Linked DNA regions of Homo sapiens: all the other regions are linked to region 2. The links are contacts of gene promoters, found by promoter capture Hi-C in human tissues and cell types (Jung and others, 2019). All regions are on one chromosome and are shown on one strand. Each heading gives the region's core, a stretch centred on a gene start or on the middle of the fragment in contact. The rest is flanking DNA. Distances are from core to core; before and after follow the strand shown. Region 1 holds the start of PLIN5 (perilipin 5). Region 2 holds the start of FEM1A (fem-1 homolog A). Region 3 overlaps KDM4B (lysine demethylase 4B).

What was found. Contacts are between HindIII fragments. The study calls those that stand out against the background at their distance.
Region 1: the fragment with the promoter of PLIN5 here is called in contact with the fragment with the promoter of FEM1A in region 2 in 4 of the 25 tissues and cell types used here (lymphoblastoid cells, mesenchymal stem cells, spleen and 1 more).
Region 3: a contact is called between a fragment that was not itself captured here and the fragment with the promoter of FEM1A in region 2, in 1 of the 25 tissues and cell types used here (lymphoblastoid cells).

The regions. Positions count from the first base shown.
Region 1 is chr19:4,533,974-4,537,946 of GRCh38, reverse strand. It overlaps PLIN5 (perilipin 5), which reads left to right and starts at 2,723. Exons shown (of 8, transcript NM_001013706.3): 1 at 2,723-2,782; 2 at 3,852-3,932. The coding sequence starts at 3,873. It overlaps LRG1 (leucine rich alpha-2-glycoprotein 1), which reads left to right. Exons shown (of 2, transcript NM_052972.3): 2 at 1-1,545. The coding sequence ends at 7. RefSeq lists an enhancer at 3,017-3,572. The HindIII fragment of the contact is 58,476 bases long and covers 1-3,973 here.
Region 2 is chr19:4,789,570-4,793,801 of GRCh38, reverse strand. It overlaps FEM1A (fem-1 homolog A), which reads right to left and starts at 2,068. Exons shown (of 1, transcript NM_018708.3): 1 at 1-2,068. The coding sequence starts at 1,947. It overlaps LOC124904620 (a long non-coding RNA gene), which reads left to right and starts at 2,510. Exons shown (of 2, transcript XR_007067103.1): 1 at 2,510-2,604. RefSeq lists enhancers at 444-1,100, 1,388-1,447, 1,101-1,757, 1,978-2,247, 1,758-2,415. The HindIII fragment of the contact is 32,697 bases long and covers 1-4,232 here.
Region 3 is chr19:5,136,401-5,140,322 of GRCh38, reverse strand. KDM4B (lysine demethylase 4B) reads right to left here. Exons shown (of 23, transcript NM_015015.3): 16 at 2,985-3,061; 17 at 2,647-2,702; 18 at 2,253-2,361. Among named protein-coding and RNA genes, the nearest start is that of PTPRS-AS1, 39 kb to the left of the region's middle. RefSeq lists enhancers at 958-1,057, 2,080-2,579, 2,580-3,081. The HindIII fragment of the contact is 3,759 bases long and covers 1-3,252 here.

The DNA of each region.
Region 1 (3,973 bases), core at 1,474-3,973, 260 kb after region 2:
CCAGTGAGACCAGGGGCTTGGGTTGAGGGTGGGGGGTCTGGTAGAACACTGCAACCCGCTTAACAAATAATCCTGCCTTTGGCCGGGTGCGGGGGCTCACGCCTGTAATCCCAGCACTTTGGGAGGCCCAGGTGGGCGGATCACGAGGTCAGGAGATCGAGACCATCTTGGCTAACATGGTGAAACCCTGTCTCTACTAAAAATATAAAAAATTAGCCAGGCGTGGTGGTGGGCACCTGTAGTCCCAGCAACTCGGGAGGCTGAGGCAGGAGAATGGCGTGAACTTGGGAGGCGGAGCTTGCGGTGAGCCAAGATCGTGCCACTGCACTCTAGCCTGGGCGACAGAGCAAGACTGTCTCAAAAAAATTAAAATTAAAATTAAAAACAAATAATCCTGCCTTTTACAGGTGAAACTCGGGGCTGTCCATAGCGGCTGGGACCCCGTTTCATCCATCCATGCTTCCTAGAACACACGATGGGCTTTCCTTACCCATGCCCAAGGTGTGCCCTCCGTCTGGAATGCCGTTCCCTGTTTCCCAGATCTCTTGAACTCTGGGTTCTCCCAGCCCCTTGTCCTTCCTTCCAGCTGAGCCCTGGCCACACTGGGGCTGCCTTTCTCTGACTCTGTCTTCCCCAAGTCAGGGGGCTCTCTGAGTGCAGGGTCTGATGCTGAGTCCCACTTAGCTTGGGGTCAGAACCAAGGGGTTTAATAAATAACCCTTGAAAACTGGATCGGATGAATTGGCTTTCATTGTGTTCCTAGCATCTTCTCAAATCAACTTCCCAGGACTCCAGGGTGAAGGAGGAAAAGAGGCATGGCCCAGGCCCTGGGGTGTGGGATATGGTCTCCCTAGGGGATGACAGTTGGGATCAATGGCCTGTGACTTCTCCTCTCCCTTCCCCCATCCTGGGACCTAACTGGAAATAAAACCTTGACTGTTGCCCGGGTGTCATTTTACCAGTGGATTTCTGCCAGGGCTTGTGTCCTAGGAGAAGGTTTAAGTTAAACCAGATTGCCCAGGTCTCCAAACGATTTGTCATGCTGACCTGAGATCATCGAAGGGGGCACCTGCCCCCGGGCAAGGTTGCAGGGGCAGGATGGGGCTGAAGGGATGAGCAGGGTCCCGGGCCCACCTGCTGATACAGCATTGGCCATGTGGGGGCTGCAATCGGATTTGGAAGACCCTGGGGCTTGGGGGCATGTCCAGTTTTCCCAGCTCCCTAAAAAATGACCATGCAGCCTGGCGCCGTGGCTCATGCCTGTAATCCAAACACTTTGGGAGGCTGAGGCAGGCAGATCACCGGAGGTCAGGAGTTCGAGACCAGACTGGCCAACATGGCAAAACCCTGTCTCTACTAAAAATACAAAAATTAGCCAGGCACAGTGGCACGTGCCTGTAATACCAGCTACTTGGGAGGGTCAGGCAGGAGAATCACTTGAACCTGGGAGGCGGAGGTTGCAGTGAGCCAAGATCACGCCACTGCACTCCAGGCTGGGCGACAGAGTGAAACTGTGTCTCAAAAATAAAAATAAAAATAAAAAGACCATGCCTACATCTGTGGTCATTCCAGGCAAGGCAATGAAAAGGCAGGGTTCTGAGGTCCAGCAGGGCTGGGTTTGAATAGGATCCCTGGCCGGGCACGGTGGCTCATGCCTGTAATCCTAGTACTTTGGGAGGCCAAGGCAGGCAAATCACGAGGTCAGGAGTCCAAGACCAGCCTGACGAATATGGTGACACCCCGTCTCTACTAAAAATACAAAAATTAGCTAGGTGTGGTGGCAGGCGCCTGTAATCCCAGCTACTCCGGAGGCCGAGGCAGGAGAATCACTTGAACCCAGGGGGCGGAGGTTGCAGTGTGTCAAGATCGCGCCACTGCACTCCAGCCTGGGCGACAGAGTCAGACTCTGTCTCAAAAAAAAAAAAAGAAAAAAAAGGAATAGGATCCCTCACTTGCTGTGGTATGCGGGGCAAGTGTTTTATGATCTCTGAGCCTCAGCTTGCTCATCTGTGAAATGGGGATCCTAGGGAAAGGGAAGGCCTGGCTTCTGGCTTAGTTAAGGGGCAGATTAAGAAATAAAAAGAGGCTGGGTGCAATGGCTCACACCTGTAATCCCAGCAATTTGGAAGGCTGAGGTGGAAGGATCACTTGGGGCTCAGGGGTTGAAGACAAGCCTGGTCAACACAGGGACATCTCGTCTCTACAAAAAGTTTAAAAAGTTAGCTGGGGGTGGTGGTGTGTGCCTGTGGTCCCAGCTACTTAGGAGACTGAGGCGGGAGGATCACCTCAGCCTGGGAGGGCAAGGCTGCAGTGAGCTATGATCACACCACTGCACTCTAGCCCTGGGCAACCGAGCAAGACCCAGTCTCAAAAATCGATAAATAATAATAATTAATAAGAAAAGTCATCAGCGAGTTGGCCAAGGTCACTCAGCAGGGCTATGGGGGCTGTGATCGCATGGACTGTCTCTATGGCAACAGCAGTGAGGATGACAGGTGGCCAAACTTGGTCCGGGAACGTATAATAGCTCAATCTTTTGAATCTAGCGCTCCCGAATTACTATGGCAACCGTAGGGCACTGGGCCAGCTCAAGGAGAGGGCGAGGGAAGCCTGGAGCCACGCCCCCTGGGCACGCCCCCGCACGGCCTCTCCCCATTGGTCAGTTCCGGAGGCCCCCACTGCGCGAGCAGCTATAAGAAGGGCGGGCGGGACCGGCGGGGGTGTGGAGACTCGAGCCTGGGGTCGGCGGAGACAGCTGGTGTCTGAAGCCGCTCGCGCCCAGGTGAGTGCCCTGAGGGCGGCGTCCGGGAGCGCCCCCCCGGGCTTAGGAGAGGAGCTCCAGATAGGGTGGTTGGGCGAAGGTCCGGCGGCGTGGGACGGGTATGACCGGCCAGAGCAGGTGGCTGGGACCCTTGGCCCGGTTGGCCCCAGCTCAGGACCCAGTTGGGCGAGGACCAGGCCTCAGAGGACGCGGGGTGGCAACCGGAGGGATCGCAGGCGGCAGGTCTGAGGCCCGAGGTCGAGCTCCCCCCCTGTAACTCTAGCTGGCTGCGTGACCTTGGGACCAGCATGGACCTGCTGCGTACCTCAGTTGCCCTGTCTGTCAAATGAGCTGTGAGTGGACTGGGACCCAGCAGCTACCACCTCCAGCCGTCTAGGGTGCTTGGGCAGTTCTGGGCCCAGGCAGGGGCCGCAGGGGTAGCAGGGACCTCCCACATCTTACAAAACAGGAAGCAGCCCAGAGAGGTGAAGGTGCTTGCCAAAAATCACACAGCTGGCCAGGTGCAGTGTCTCATGCCTGTAATCCCAGCACTTTGGGAGGCCGAGGTGGGCAGATCACTTGAGCCCAGGAGTTTGAGACCAGCCTGGGCAACATGGCGAAACCCGGTTTCTACTAAAAATACAAAAATTAGCCGAGCATGGTGGCACGTGGGTAATCCCAGCTAACTGGGAGGCTGAAGCAGGAGAATCACTTGAACCTGGGAGGCGGAAATTGCAGTGAGCTGGGATGGCGCCACTGCTCTCCAGCCTGGGCGAGAGAGATTCTGTCTTTAAAAAAATAATAAAAATAACACCGCAATTAATGGTAGCATTTGAACCCAGGTCTTTCTCACCTCAGAGACCATGCTTCGAGTCACTCCGGCAACCCTACCTTGCCAGAGGCTCATTATTGGACACCCTCTGTGTACAGAGCTCTGGACATGCATTGTCTGAGCTCCACAGAATGCCCCATTATGCAGATGAAGAAACTGAGGCCCCAAGAGGTTTGAGAGTTGCTCAAGTCACAGAGCCCAATTTGACAGGATCTGATGCCTGGGCAGGTGCTCCCCTTACTCAATCCTGCCCCGCAGGGTGACCCTGTTTGCAGCACGATGTCTGAAGAAGAGGCGGCTCAGATCCCCAGATCCAGTGTGTGGGAGCAGGACCAGCAGGTGAGGGCTGCCCCTCCCATGGAGCAGGGACAGAAGGTATT
Region 2 (4,232 bases), core at 819-3,318:
CTTATCCAGGGCCCGGGCCGCAAGGCACTGCAGGGTCACGTAGTTGAAGGGCTGCATGGTACCCCTGGCCAGCAGCTTCTCGTCCAGCAGCTCGTAGGCCGTCTTCTTGAAGGCATTGGTGGCGTCCATGTGGGCCCCTGCTTCGATCAGGGCATTCATGATGGCCGGGCAGTTGTTCTGGGCTGCTATGTGTAGCGGGGTGTTGTTGTCAAAATCCCTGCTGTCCGGGTCGGCCCCGCAGTCGAGCAGCACTTTGACCACGTGCAGGGAGGGGAATCTGCCCACGGGATAGCGGCCCACGTTTGTGGTGTCCTTGTCCACAGCCATGTGCAGAGGGGTGAAGCCGTTCTTGCCCCTGGGCGCGCACTTGAGCAGGCGGTAGACGGTCTGGTGCTTCAGGTGCTCCTGGCTGGGGGTGCACTCCACTTTCTCCAGCAGGTAGAGCAGGTGGAGGATGATGGCCAGCGCCTTGGTGAACTGGGCTGAGTCTCCGGGCTCCCTGGGCAGCTGCAGGGCCCGTTCCACTTCCCGGACCCCTTTGGTGAGAACCCCCATGAGGTCTGCAAAGCCGATCTGGGTGCCCAGGCTGCCTTTGGCGGCCCGGTCCTGAAGCACGTAGGAGAAGAGTTCCGCGAAGGAGAGGAAGCTGCTGGCGGTCATGGGGCTCAGAGGCTCCAGGTTGCTCTGTTGCATGTCCAGGGCGTACTTCCACAAGCGGATGCAGCGCTCGAAATTGCCCGAGTCGGCGTACACGGCACCCCTGTAACGGATGTAATAGGAAGTGTCCGGGTGCGAGGGACCGAGGATGCGCTCCCGGATCAACAGGGCCTGCATGCGCATCTCATCCGGGTCGGTGATCAGCGCCTCCAGCTCCTCGGTGGTGTTGACCTCCCTGGAATAGTCATAGGCCAGGACCAGCTGTGGGGGCTCCGGTTTGGGCAGGTACTCGCCCCCCTGGTGACGCAGCTCCATGGCCCGCCTCCAGTGTTTAAGGGCCCCAAGCAGATCTCGTTTCTTATCCACATACGTAGCTCCCAGCAATTCCAAGGCTTCCACGGCAGCTTCCCGGCTGGTGGGACAGCAGCTTTCGTAAGATTCCCCGTTCAGTGGTTCCTCTGGGGAGGAGCTGCAGCACGGAGCCCCCTGAGGCTGCGCACACCCCTGGCTGGTGGAGGGGTCTTCTTGGGGCAGCCCAGGCTGAGCCTCTCCCCCTGCGACCTGCTCCTGGCCGGGCTGCTCCTGGATGAGGTACTCCACGATGTTGGTGTGGCCCGTCACGCTGGCCGCGAGCAGCGGGGTCATGCCGTAGCCGTCACGTTCCATGCGGGCCTTGCACCCCAGCAGCAGCTGCAGGATCTCCAGGCTGCCGGACTCGGCGCAGTCATGCAGGGCCGTGTTGCCCTTGGCGCTGCGCCGGTTCACCTGGGCGCCCTGCTCCAGCAGGTAGCGGGCGATCTCACGGTGGCCCTTGTAGCACGAGATCATGAGGCACGTGTGGCCGTGCCGGTTGGCCACCTCCAGGTCGGCCTGGTGCTCGCCGACCAGGTAGCGCACCACCTCCAGGTGGCCGTCGAAGCAGGCGGCGCGGAGAGGCGTGGAGTTGGTGCGCGTGGTGCGGTTCACCGAGGCCCCGCGGCGCAGCAGGCTCCGCACCACGTCCAGGTGGCCGGCTGCGGAGGCGGCCCACAGCGGCGGCGCGCCCTCGATGGTCTCGCCATCGAAGTGCACCGAGCCACCGGCCTCCACGCTCGCGCCGCACCGGTCCACCAGGTACTCCACCACGTCCAGGTGGCCGTAGCGGGCGGCGATGAGTAGCGGCGTTCCCCCGCCGGCCACCTCGCCCGTCAGCTCGTCCAGTTCCTCCCGGCTCCGGCCGCTGAGCAGCTTCTGGAGCAGCTGCAGCTTGCCATCACGGGCGGCGTTGTACACGGCGGTGCGGAGGTCCATGGTTCGGGCCTCCGCCAGGCCATGGGCCGGCCGCCGGGGGACGGGGAGACGGAGGATCAGAGCCCGGACGGGCGGGAGGCAACCTTCACCGTCCCCCTCGCCGCCATCTTAGGGTCTCCTCGGGCGGAACAAAATGGCTGCCGCGACCCGACGGATGGCAGCACGCCGGGAAATGGAGTCCTTTGCGCGGGCCCACTCCATAGAACAGAAAAGGAATCTTGGGGGCTCAAGACTACACTTCCCCAAAGGCCACAGGACAGCCCCTGAGAGCTGTGAGCGCGCGGCATGGTGGGAATTGGCGTTCCAGTCGCAGCGCATGGCATCGGAAGCTAGCAATTTGAGGACTACAATTCCCGTCATGCAGCGTCACACGACCTAGCTTGTGGGAACCGGCGAAATTTGGTGACGTACTTCCCGTGGCTATCTCTGCGTCAGAGCGTATAGAAAAAGCAGGCGCGATACCCTTAAGGACTACATTTCCCAAAAGGGATCACGAGCGACTCTGAGCCAATCAGGACCGAGACCGAAGGCTAAAAGCGACTAGAGGGGACGCGTCTGTTTTGGGCTTGGAGCACGGGCAAGCGGCCCACCGGCAGGGGGCGCCCGGAGGAGGCCGAAAAGCTGGACGGGGCGAAAACGTTTTGAGCTGGGAGAACGGTAAAAAATGACGCGCTCACTTCTTATTCTCACATTCATATATTCATTTATTCATTTACATACATTTATGTATATTCTAGTATGTGTCAGAATTTCCTTCTTTTATTTACGTATTTATTTTTATTTATTTCTTTCAATAACTTTGTGGGGTTTTTTGGTTTTGGTTTTTGTTTTTGAGACAGCGTCTCGCTCTTGTTGCCTAGGCTGGAGGGCAATGCCGCAATCTCGGCTCACTGCAACCTCTGCCTCCCGGGTTCAAGTGATTCTCGTGCCTCAGCCTCCCGAGTAGCTGGGACTACAGACATCCACCACCACGCCCGGCTAATTTTTGTATTTTTGGTAGAGACGGGTTTCGCCATGTTGGCCAGGATGGTCTCGAACTCCTGACCTTGGGAGATCCGCCCGCCTCAGCCTCCCAAAGTGCTAGAATTACAGGCGTGAGCCACTATGCCCGGCCTGACGTGCTGACTTCAATTCCTTTGGATAAAGACCCAGAAGTGGGATTCCTGGATCACCTGGTAGTTTTATTTTTAAATTTTTCTTTGGAACTTCCATACCATTTTCTATAATGGCTATACTAATTAAAATTACCATCAGTAGTGTATAAGTGTTCTCTTCAAATCCTTGCCAACGTTTGTTACCTTTCGTCTTTTTGATGATAGCTATTCTAGCAGTTGTAAGGTGATCCATTCCCTGGCATTTTTTGACAACAATGAATTATATTATGAAAAAGAAATCTTTGGTGACCCGAATTCTTTATTTTTAAAGTTTATTCGAGGTGTAATATATATACAATAAAATGCATTTTTAATAAAGAGGACAGGTTTGGCCGGGCAAGGTGACTCACACCTGTAATCTCAGCACTTTGGGAGGCTGAGGTGGGAGGATTGCTTGAACCCAGGAATTCGAGACCAGCCTGGGAAACATAGCACATCTCTACAAAAATAGAAAAATTAGCCGGGCGTGGTAGCGTGCACCTGTTGTCTCAGCTACTCGGGAGGCTGAAGTGGGAGGATCGCTTGAACCTAGGAGGTCAAGGCTGCAGTGAGCCGTGATTGCACCATTGTACTTCAGCCTGGGTGACAGAGGGAGACCCTGTCTCTAAGATAAATAAATAAAAATAAATAAAGAGAACAGGTGTGACAAACATGCAGCTATGTAGCCAGTATCACAACCAAGATGTTCAACAGCGTCTTCATTCAGAATTGTTATCTCATGCCGGCCGGGCGCGGTGTCTCACGCCTGTAATCCCAGCACTTTGGGAGGTCGAGATGGGTGGATCACGAGGTCAGGAGATCGAGACCATCCTGGCTAACACGGTGAAACCCCGTCTCTACTAAAAATACAAAAAATTAGCCGGGCGTGGTGGCAGGCGCCTGTAGTCCCAGCTACTCGGGAGGCTGAGGCAGGAGAATGGCGTGAACACGGGAGGCAGAGCTTGCAGTGAGCCGAGATCGCGCCACTGCACTCCAGCCTGGGCGACAGAGCGAGACTCCGTCTCAAAAAAAAAGAATGTTATCTCATGCCCTGTTGATCAACGCCTTTGTCCACCCGCAGCCACTGGTAACTGCTGATCTGTTCTCTGCGTTTCATACTAACAGCACAGAAACGGAAAAATGCAGTATGCG
Region 3 (3,922 bases), core at 124-2,623, 350 kb before region 2:
AGCAGACAGCCCTGCAGGGCTGCAGCCCAGGCCATGATCGGCCAAGCCCCTCCAGGCCCCAGGCTCCTCACCTGCAGAACAGACAGTGCAGGATGACCCCACAGGCTCTCACTGTGTGGATCAAATGCAGTAGGTGACACTGGGGGCCTGGGGGAGCGAGGCTGCAGATTTGACAAGCCCTGAGCAGCTGCTAGTGCTCAGACAGGGTGGTCCATGCTTTAGGGAGTGGGCCCAGCTCACACCACTGCAACCCTGCATGGCGGGGACTGTGGCAACCCCACAGCACAGAAGGGACGGCCGAGGCACAGAGAGGTCGAGGAATCTGTCCCAAGTGCACAGCCAGCTGGTGGCCAGCACTGACCACTCCTGACTGCCCTGTGGCTCCAAGGGGTTCCCCAAAGGGGGGCCATCATTGCTGAGAGCAGGAGGAAGCTTCACAAGCCCCCACGATGAGGCCCCGCTACGCCCAAGGTGGCTGCGCGCATCTACGGGGGGCCTCAATGTGCACCAAGAGTGGAGCAGCAGAGATCCTCCAACTCAACCACAAAAGGCCAAGCAACCCAGGCACGGAATGGGCGAAGGAGCAGAACAGACGTTTCTCCAAAGACGGCATGCAGATGGCCAACAGGACTGTGCAAAGATGCCCAGCGTCACTGACCGCCAGGAGAACACAAATCAAACCATAGCGAGACCACCTCGCACCTGCTAGGGCGGCTGCTACAAAAAAGTCAAAGGTAGGTGTGAGTGAGGACGAGGGGAAGGGGAAAGCCCTGCACCCGGGGGGTGCGGATGGGAGTCCGTCCAGCCGCAAGGGAGAGCAGTTTCCTCCAGTGCTAAAAACAGAGCTGCCCGACGGTCCAGCAAGCCCACTGCTGGGTCTGTATCCACAGGAAATGACATCAGAATCTCCAAACCACAACCACACTCCCACATCCGCTGCGGCGCAACCCACAACAGCCTGAAGGCAGAGACATCGGCGGGTGCCCGGATCAACACAACGTCGTCCATCCACATGGTGGCACATCACTGAGCCAGGAAAAGAAGGAACTCCTGCCATATTTGGGTTGAATGAATGTGGATGAACCTTGAGGAAACTATGCCAAATGAAAGACACCACTCGCGCCTGTAATCCCAGCTACCCAGGAGGCCAAGGCAGGAAGATCTCAAGGCCAGGAGTTCCAAACCAGCCTGGGCAACATAGTGAGACCCCATCTTTTAAAAAAAAATTGGGAGTTAACCTAACTTTTTGGCACGTGCTTGTGGTCCCAGCTACTCAGGAGGCTGAGGCGGGATGATCGCTTGAGCCCAGGAGTTTGAGGCTGCAGAGAGCTGTGATCACACCACTGCACTCCAGCCTGGGTAACAGAGTGAGAGACCCTGTCTCTTAAGAAAGAAGCCGGTCGCAGAAGAATAAAGACTGTACAATCCCACTCACGTGGGGTCTATAACACAGGCAAACACACAGAAGCAGAGTGCTGGGTGCTGGGGTGGGCGGAGGGAGCTGCTGCTTAGCACGTGTGAAGTGTCAGTTATACAGGACGGGTGAGCGGGCCGCAGAGCCCTGCTGCCCACCACTGGGCCCGTGGTGAATGCTGTACTGAACCTCAGATGCTTCTTAAGAGGGCAGATCTCACGCTAAGCATTGTTACAATTGTTTGTTTTTTTTTGAGACAGTGCCTGGCTCTGTTGTCTAGGCTGCAGTGTAATGGTGCCATCACAGCTCACTGCAGCCTGGGTATCCCGGGCTCAGGCGATCCTCCCACCTCAGCCTCCCGAGTAGCTGGGACCACAGGTGTGTGCCACCACGCCCAGCTAGTGTTTTTTATTTTTTTTATAGAGATGGGGTCTCATCGTGTTGCCCAGGCTTGTTATAATTATTAGAAAAACAGCAAAGATCAGACAGCCCGGTTGTGTCGGGGCACGTGCGGTGCCTCTGCTTTTGTGGGAAGGTGGAAACTGCATGGGGTGCTCGATTCTGCAGAGGATGCCCCCAAGGCCACACCTGACGGGGCCTGCTTATCTCTGCCACCCTTGATGCCTTCTGATTTTTGTACCTTGCACCTCGGGGAAGGATTCAAAAAATAACACACCTGCTGAAGTCGGGATCACTGGCTTCCTGAAAGCTGCCCACCACCCCCATGGAGACGCAGAGCTTGGAGGAAAGACCGCTTCAGATCGCGCAGGTGGGGAGCCGAGCATGGCCGGCAGCCCTAGAGGCACGGGCAGGGTGGGCCTCGACCGCAAGGACCTACCAGCTTCCACCGCTGCTCGGGGATGGCGCTGATGTCCACAGGGTGGCGCTCAATCACGTTCAGGAAGCGCGCCTCGGGGACTGCGATGGCACAGATCACGTGGATCCACCTGGGAGGGCAGGTGCAGCGGGGTCAGGTGCGCCTCTGAGGACCTGGGCTGGTCACAGAGGGGCTGGGCGTGATGTGGCTGTCGGCTGGGTCAGGGCCTGGGGAACTTCAGGAAGGTCGGTGCAGGCGTATGCTCCTCCTCAGCCCTGGCCACCCCATCCATGACACAGGGCGGTTATGTGGAGGTGATGGTCAACCCCTAGGCACTGGGGTCACACCCTGCAGAGCCTCAGCCCAGGGCAGGCTCCCCTCCGGCCCTCCAGCCCCAACGCGCGGTGCCACCCACCTCCTATCGGTGGTCATCTGCAGCGCACCTCCTCGCAGGTTGCACAGGCAGCACTCCTGTGGAGACCAGACAGCCCTGGATGAGCAGGGCTCGGAGCAGGCTCCCCACACACTGCTTGGGGCCTGATCTGCCAACCGTCCCCAGCCCACGGCCCTTATATTTCAACCTAGCAGCCACCAAAGTGACGGGTGGGAATCCCTTGGGTTCCACCCCCTCAGGGCAGAGGTGAAGGAACCCAGGCCCACGGAGGGGAGACTACGCCCCAAAGTCACCCCACTGGAGTGGGGCCGGGGCCCAGGCCTCTCAGAGCACCACCCCCGCTGCGGGGAGCGAGTTACCGCAGTCCAGGCGTGGGCCGCGCACCGGGAACACGTCCAGCCTTCATTGACCAGCTCGGGACGGATGCCATAGCAACCTGGAAGACAGCGGGGGCTGGCTGAGATCTGGGGGGCAGGTGAGACTTGGGGAGCCGAGTGAAACTCAGGGGGAGGGGCCGGGTAACTTGGGGGCCAGTGTCCGTATGTGGAGTGACGAGGCCTCCGCACGCAGCTGCAGCATTCAGGGTGCGTGCTGTTCCCACCCTCTGAGCTTCAATCCAGGCCACTGCATGTGGAGCGAGAGAAAGGTCTGGAAGCTACTTGTGTGGAAAGAGGACGCAGGAGGGGAAGCAGGGACCCTGAGCTCCAGCTGGGTCTGCCGCGCTCAGCCTGGTGGTGTCTTGAGGGCCCCTCCTTGTTGGGTGTCTGCACCCCCAACAGCAGCTCCTCCTGCTATGTCCAGAAAGGCCAAAGCCGCAAGGGAGACTCACTGTGGGATGTGGCCCTGGGTCTGGAAATGGGGAAAGGGCACAAAAGGCCGAATCATGCCCCCAGAGCGAGGGCAGGGGTGCCGCCTGCCCCCCAGGGCTCTGCCTCTGCTGGGGATCACTGCCCCCAGTGTGGAAGGGGCTCTCTGCCAGTGCTGATGGCCCACTGAAGAGGCTGGGGGCGGGGACCTCACTGCCTCCAGAGCAGCAGGGTGGTGGGCACGGCTGGGGGTGGGGGCGTCTGCTGGGGTAGCCTGGCTGGGGCGGCCCGGCTGTGGCAGGCCTGGGACCCTCGGCAACCCTTCCCCCAGGGAGCCCATCTGCCCCGGGGGCACATCTCAAACCCAGGCCCAGCAAAGCAGAGTGAAGAGCCTCCCAGCCAGGAGACAACGCGAGCCCCCAGGCAGGCCACCGCCAGGAGGAAACCGACACAGATCTATGGCTGCCAGGGGCACAGAAAATTAAACGTCT